Linked DNA regions of Homo sapiens: region 2 is linked to region 1. Evidence: promoter capture Hi-C in human tissues and cell types (Jung and others, 2019). All regions are on one chromosome and are shown on one strand. The core of a region is centred on a gene start or on the middle of the fragment in contact, and the rest is flanking DNA. Distances in the headings are between cores, read along the strand shown. Region 1 holds the start of OCM (oncomodulin). Region 2 has its middle 33 kb from the start of FAM220A.

Evidence for each region. The method cuts DNA at HindIII sites, captures the fragments that hold promoters and counts their contacts. A contact is called where the count stands out against the background at its distance.
Region 2: a fragment that was not itself captured here is called in contact with the fragment with the promoter of OCM in region 1 in 1 of the 25 tissues and cell types used here (psoas muscle).

The regions. Positions count from the first base shown.
Region 1 is chr7:5,879,548-5,883,455 of GRCh38, reverse strand. It overlaps OCM (oncomodulin), which reads right to left and starts at 2,658. Exons shown (of 4, transcript NM_001097622.2): 1 at 2,506-2,658; 2 at 831-963. The coding sequence starts at 2,566. The HindIII fragment of the contact is 18,194 bases long and covers 1-3,908 here.
Region 2 is chr7:6,314,336-6,318,243 of GRCh38, reverse strand. No RefSeq gene overlaps it. Among named protein-coding and RNA genes, the nearest start is that of FAM220A, 33 kb to the left of the region's middle. The HindIII fragment of the contact is 4,452 bases long and covers 1-3,908 here.

The DNA of each region.
Region 1 (3,908 bases), core at 1,409-3,908:
CACCCACCTCAGCCTCCCAAAGGGCTGGGATTGTAGGTGTGAGCCACAGTGCCTGGCCCATTTTTAAGTTTTTAGTGTTTTTAATTTTTATTTATTTATTTATTTGAGACAGAGTCTCTCTCTGTCACCCAGGCTGGAGTGCAGCTGCACGATCTGGGCTCACTGCAACCTCTGCCTCCTGACTTCAAGCAATTCTTGTGCTTCAGTCTTCTGAGTAGCTGGAATTACAGGCGTGAGCCACTGCGCTTAGCCAAGTTTTTAGTTTTTTAAAGTCCATTTGCCAAAGGAAATCCCTTACATGAAAGAATCTTTGTGGCTGGGCACAGTGACTCACACCTGTAATCCCAGCACTTTGGGAGGCCAAGGCAGGAGGATCACTTGAAGTCAGGAGTTTGAGACCAGCCTGGCAACATAGTGAAGCCCCATCTCTACTCTAAATATGAAAATGAGCTGGATGTGGTGGCAGGCACCTGTAATCCCAGCCACTTGGGAGACTGAGGCATGAGAATCACTTGAATTTGGAAGGCGGAGGCTGCAGGGAGCTGAGATCACCCCACTGCACTCCAGCCTGGGCAACAGAGTGAGGCCCTGTCTCAAAAAAAAAAAAAAAAAAAAGAATCTTTGCACCTGCAGTCTTCTCTGCCCATATTGAGGGCTTTGCATGGGTAGATGTGCGGTCAACTGACTCATGTCCTTTGCTTTAATGATGCTTGGCCGAATGACCAACACCAAGGCTGGCCATTGAAGAAATACTGAGCAACCTGGCCCCCACTGCACCCCAGGCCCACTCAGCAGTGCCGGGTACCAGACAGACTCAGGACAAAGCTTACTTAAGCTCTTCTTCATCCAGGTACCCGCTCTGGTCGTTGTCTATGAACCGGAAAACATCCTTCACCTGATTGGCTGACATCTTGGAGAGGCCTGATGTCTGGAAGAATTTTTGGGGTTCAAAAGTGTCTGGGTCTGAAGAACAGAGAATTGGTTATTCTGACGCTTGTTGGATCACATTCTATGTTGGGGCCAAGGTACTAAAAACACAGATAATTAAAAACACTTCAACAATATCCCTGAGCTACGGGGATGCTCAACTGGTCCAAGATTTTGGGACAGCCAAGACTTGATGGCTCTGTGATGGCATCCCATGTCCCCTCCGCCCCAGTCTTCCCTCCTCCACTTGGTTTTGTCCATTTTCCTTTTCCCTCCTCATCTCTTCTGTGCCTCCCCCTCCCCCTGGCCCACTTTACAGGCTGTGTGGCTGAGCCCCCAGCATCCCTGGTCTAATTGGTAGGGGGAAATGCAATCACTGGATTTCAACAGGCTAAATGGCCTTTGGCGCTTTTTTTTTTTTTTTTTTTTTTTTTTTTTTTTTTGAGACAGAGTCTCACTCTGTCACCAGGCTGGAGTGCAGTGGCGTGATCTCGGCTCACTGCAACCTCTGCCTCCCGGGTTCAACTGATTCTCCTGCTTCAGCCTCCCAAGTAGCTGAGATTACAGGTGTGCACCCCCATGCCCAGCTCATTTTTGTATTTTTAATAGAGACAGGGTTTTGCCATGCTGGCCAGGTTGGTCTTGAACTCCTGACCTCAAGTGATGCACCGGCCTCGGCCTCCCAAAGTGTTGGGATTACAGGTGTGAGCACGACACCTGGCCTTTCAGTGATGTCTTGCTTTCATGTTTAGTAGGTTTCTTTTGTCTTACAGATGTGTAATCGTGTGCTCAGATCCCAGATCTCTATAATTTTAGTTATCTAATAAATAGCAGTTTTCTTCTCTGATTCCATGAATTTTCCAGCCAACCTCTTATTTATTTATTTATTTATTTATTTAGAGCCAGAGTCTCACTCTGTCGTCCAAGCTGGAGTGCAGTGTAGCGATCATAGCTCACCACAGCCTCAACCTCCTGGGCTTCAGTGATCCTCCTACCTTAGTTTCCAGAGTAGCTGGGACCACAGGCACATGCCACCATGCCCCGCTAGTTTTTATTTTTATTGTTATGTTGTAGAGATGGAGTCTTCCTATGTTGCCCAGGCTGGTCTCAAACTCCTGGGCTCAAACAGTCCTCTCACCTTGGCCTCCAAAAAGTGTTGGGATTACAGATGTGAGCCACCATGCCTGGTCTACTTTTTTTTTTTTTTTTTGTAGACAGAGTCTTGCTCTGTTGCCCAGGCTGGAGTGCAGTGGCATGATCTCAGCTCACTGCAACTTCTGCCTCCCGGGTTCAAGCAATTCTCTGCCTCAGCCTCCCGAGTAGCTGGGATTACAGGCACCCACCACCACGCCCGGTTAATTTTTTTGTATTTTTAGTAGAGATGGGGTTTCACCATCTTGGCCAGGCTGGTCTCGAACTCCTGACCTCGTGATCCACCCGCCTCGGCCTCCCAAAGTGCTGGGATTACAGGTGTGAGCCACTGCGTCTGGCCGCCTGGCCTACATTTTGATTTTGTGTTGACTCGCTGGAGGTGCAAAGCTGTGAGGAAATCCCACCCCCGCCTCACGTCCCCTCTACCTCGGCATTCCTGGAGCGCTGCTGCAATGTCGTCAGCACTGAGCACGTCCGTGATGCTCATTTTCTACCTACTCACACAGAATAAATGAGAGGCGATAAGCCACAAACAGGAATGTGCACATCCAGGGGAAACACATCTTCCCAGGCCCACTGAAACTGTATGTGTGTCTAGATTATTTTTTTTTTTAAATTAAGACGGAGTCTCACTCTGTCACCCAGGCTGGAGTGCAAGAGCGTGATCTCGGCTCACCGCAACCTCCGCCTCCTGGGCTCAAGTGATTCTCCTGCCTAAGCCTTCCCAGTAGCTGGGATTACAGGTGCGCACTACCATGCCTGGCTAATTTTTGTGTTTTTAGTAGAGACGGGGTTTTGCCATGTTGGCCAGGCTGGTCTTGAGCTCCTGACCTCAGGTGATCTGCCTGCCTTGGCCTCACAAAGTGCTGGGATGACAGATGCAAGCCACCGAGCCAGGCCTGTCTAGAATTTTTAAAATGTGATAAGCATGGTTTTGTATTAAGTGACGGGACAGAATATCCAAATTAAAACCAGATACGGAAAACACCCCAGCCTTTTTTGTCTCAGAGCCTTCTTTTGAATACATGCCAAAAATGGAAAAAAAAAATGACCCAAAGAAGGATTCAATTGTTTTCTTATAAAAATTATACTGACATAATCAGTCATTTGCATAGGCAGCCGTAAACCATGTTACACATGCACTGGCATTTTCCTACAGCAGCCCGAGAGATGCAATGTTGCAAATTCCACGTGGGAAAGGATACAGTTTGGGCTGCTTGCAGACATTCTGTGGAAGAAGGCATGCACCTGTCCTGAAAGGTGGGAAGCAGATGGATGAAAAGCCCATCTCCCAGAGATTAAAATCCTTCCAGGTGTCAGAGCCACCGGAAAACAGGAGTCTAAGCACCTGAGCCTAATATGAATGCATGCAGTGAAGAAAAGAGTCTGGGGTCTGATGTGTCCACCAGTTACTCACCGTTTTCGGTTTCCCCCCAGGAAGAATCAGGAAAAAGAGTTGAAGGAGCAAAACAACAGATGTGTTTTTGCTACCTTACTGACCTACCTTATATAGGCTAGAAAAAGTGATAGTTACAACCTCTTAGATTTCCTTTTCAAGGATCAAGTGGATGCAGCTCAAATGTCTTGTCTTACTCATGAAACCTCTTTTTTTTTTTTTTTCTATTTATGTCTCAAGGGAATGTGGGTGGGAACAGCCAATTGTAAAAAAAAAAAAAAAACAACAACAAACTTCAACAAACCTTAACTAAGATTTCAATTCTGCAAACGAACCCTGTTGGCAAAGTGTGGAGAAGGTTCTAGATGCCTGGTAAGGTGGAGATGGTGGCCTGAACTAAGACAAACACATACAGGGTGCTCTGTAAGCTGAA
Region 2 (3,908 bases), core at 513-3,012, 440 kb before region 1:
GTAGAAGAGTGCACTTACCCTTTAGCACACTCCAGAGGAAATACATACTCAGGTTTAAAGCTTGACCTTGGCTCTGGTAACGGGACAGTTCATCGAACAAGGGGTGATTCATGAGAACATCCTGTACCGCCCCCTCTCCCTCTAGAGCCACTGGGGGCCTCAAAACGTGAGAGCGGAACCGCTCGAGGAATGGAGGCAGGTTTTGCAAGCGTCTGTCTCCCTGGAACGGCAGGCTTACTGAGGAGTCTCTGGGCTCCTTCCAGCTCCAGGCTGGACTTGGCCTCCCCCTTACTGCCTCCAACGTTACCTCTTTTCCCAAAAATAGGATTTGGAACTTATTCCCCAAGTGACATAATACATCTTACAGTCATGGGCAGGAAGTGGCTGTTTTCCTGCCAGGCCTGTGAGGTCCCCTGGAGATGAGCTGGGAAGGGTACTCCTCGTCCTGCTTCACAATAGAACTTCAACGCCTTCATTTTAAGGCGATTTTCTTCCATTTGGAAGCGCAGCGTGCTTTTCCACACTATGCAGCGAAAGAGGTTAGATTGGCTGGATTTGGACGCTCTTGGGTGTTTCTGCTTCATAAACAAAGCATGCTTGAATATTAATAATGATGCCCTCCAACATGGCGAGATCCCGTCTCCACGGAAAATATAAAAATTAGCCGGGCGTGGCGGCTCATGTCTGTAATCCCAGCACTTTGGGAGGCCGAGGTGGACGGATCACGAGGTCAGGAGATGGAGACCATCCTGGCTAACAGGGTGAAACCCCGTCTCCACTAAAAATACAAAAAATTAGCCAGGCATGGTGGTGGCACCTGTAGTCCCAGCTACTCGGGAGGCTGAGGCAGGAGAATGGCGTGAACCCAGGAGGCGGAGGTTGCAGTGAGCCGAGATTGCGCCACTGCACTCCAGCCTGGGCGGCAGAGCAAGACCGTGTCTCTAAAAAATAAATAAAATATTATTTATTAATTTTACAATAAAATAATTATATTTTATATATTATATAAAATAAATTTATATTTTATAATAAATAAAATATTTTAATGTCTAAAATGTTATATATTAATATATAAAACATTATTTTATTTATTAAACATATAAATATTTTTTATTTATTAAAAATAAATAAAATATCATTTATGTTTTAGACAGGGTCGTCGTCTGGCACCCAGGCTGGAGTGCAGTGGTGCAATCACAGTTCACTGAAGCCTCGACCTCCCAGGCTCAAGGGATCCTCCTGCCTCAGCCTCCCGAGTACCCAGGACCACAGGCATGCGCCACCACGCCTGGCTTTATTGTAAGTTCTAGTGTAGGCACAACGCCGGTTACTTAAGATGACAAATGGGGAAAATCCACATTAATTGGGTTTGCTATTAAGTGGGTGTGTTGATGGCCGGGCACAGTGGCTCATGCTGGTAACCCCAGCACTTTGGGAGGCCGAGGTGGGCAGATCACTAGGTCAAGAGATCGAGACCATCCTGGCCAACACAGTGAAACCCCGTCTCTACTAAAAATACAAAAATTAGCTGGGTGTGGTGGTGTGCATCTGTAATCCCAGCTACTCAGGAGGCTGAGGCAGGAGAATTGCTTGAACCTGGGAGGTGGAGGGTGCAGTGAGCCAAGATCATGCCACTGCACTCCAGCCTGGCAACAGAGCGAGACTCCATCTAAAAAAACAAAAAACAAAACAACAAAAAAAAAGAATTGTCCTCCTCCCGCAACTGAAAACACTGCCCAGGCGAGACTTCCTGACGTTGACATCATGCATCTTAGCACTTTCCTACCCAAGGCTGTAAAAAGCTCTGTTGCACTTTGGCAACGATAGGAATAAGTCTCTGCATCAGCTTTGATCCTGGCTCCAGAGCAAACTAAGCCAAGAACTGAGAATCTGTTGGCTCTGGCTTATTTTGTTTTATTTTATTTATTTTTTTGAGGCAGGGTCGATTTTGGCCCACTGCAACTTCTGCCTCCTGGGCTCAAGCAGTTCTCCTACCTCAGACTCTTGAGTAGCTGGGATTACAGGCACATGGCACCACACCCAGCTAATTTTTGTGTTTTTTGTAGAGACAGGGTTTCATGATGTTACCCAGGCTGGTCTCGAACTCCTGAGCTCAAGAGATCCTCCTGGCTCAGCCTCCCAAAGTGCTGGGATTACAGGTGTGAGCTGCCACACCCGGCTGGGTCTGGCTTCTTATACTGGGCCTTGCCCAGGTTTTGTTATCTGTTTGGAAGTTATTTTTAGCCCTCCGGAACAGTTTTGAGACAAATCGTTTCGGTGCTTATGCAGCATTATTTTTTTTAACCGATCATGACTATTTTCAACTCAGTAGAAGTTCTAAGGCAGAAACATTTCCTTTTTAAGGCCGTGTTTCTCTGGCAGTCCTAAAGACTAATCCAAAAGATTAGCAAAAGTAACCGCTTGTTAAACAGCTCAAATCTGGTAAATACAGGAGATATGCTTCTGTTCAGGGAACCTCTCAGGGTGAGAGAAGAAAGGAAGAAAAAGAGAAGATTTCTATGGATGTCTATGAACAGTGAATTCCTTAACGGAACCAAAATTTGTCTTTTTTAACTGGAAAACTTACATTCATTGATGATAAATAGTATATATCTGAGCCAAAACTGTGTTGCCCAAAATTTAAGTTACATTAAGAAATAGTCGGCCAAGGCCGGGCGCGGTGGCTGACACCTGTAATCCCAGCACTTTGGGAGGCTGAGGCGGGCATATCACGAGGTCAGGAGATCGAGACCATCCTGGCTAACACGGTGAAACCCCGTCTCTACTAACGATACAAAAAAAAAAAAAATTAGCCAGGCGTGGTGGTGGGCGCCTGTAGTACCAGCTACTAGCGAGGCTGAGGTGGGAGAATGACATGAACCTGGGAGGCAGAGCTTGCAGTGAGCCAAGATTGTGCCACTGCACTCCAACCTGGGTGACAGAGCGAGACTCCATCTCGGAAAAAAAAAGAAATAGTCGGCCAGGCACAGTGGCTCACACCTGTAATCCCAGCACTTTGGGAGGCCGAGGCTGACAAATCACGAGGTCAGGAGTTCGAGACCAGCCCGGCCAACATGGTGAAACCCCATCTCTACTAAAATACATAAATTAGCCGGGTGTGGTGGCGGGCGCCTGTAGTCCCAGCTACTTGGGAGGCTGAGGCAGGAGAATCACTTGAACCCCGGAGGCGGAGGTTGCAGTGAGCTGAGATCGCACCATTGCCCTCCAGCCTGGTGACGGAGAGAGACTACGTCTCAAAAAAGAAAAAAAAATAGTCCTCTAACTTTTTGAGTCAGCTCTGTACATCTGCTGGTCGCTCAGTGGGTCTGATCCAGTTCTGTGTCTTTGGGAATAATCTGGCCACAGGGCTGTCCCCACTGTTTTAGCGGGGCAGTGTCAACCTCCCTCAACCCCAGCGGCCATAGGTCCAGAGTTAGGCTTTGTCTTTTTTTTTTTTTTTTTGAGACGGAGTCTCGCTCTGTCGCCCAGGCTGGAGTGCAGTGGCGCGGTCTCGGCTCACTGCAAGCTCCGCCTCTCAGGTTCACGCCATTCTCCTGCCTCAGCCTCCCGAGTAGCTGGGACTACAGGCGCCCGCCACCACGCCCTGCTATAGGCTTTGTCTTCAAAGCAAACAGAGTATTTCCTTTTGGGAAGCGCATGAAGCTGCTTTTTTACTTAGAAAACAAACCCACCCTTCCAAACATGCACAGTGAAATAAGCCAGGCATAAAAGGACAAATATTGTAGGATTCCACTTACATGAGGTTCCTAGAAGAGACAGCTCCGGAGAGACAGTAAGTAGAACGATGGCTGCCAGGGGCTAGGAGAAGGGGGAGAGGGGAGCGAGTGTTTAGCGGGGACACAGTTTCTGTTTGAGAAGATGAAAATGTCCTGGAGATGGATGGGGAC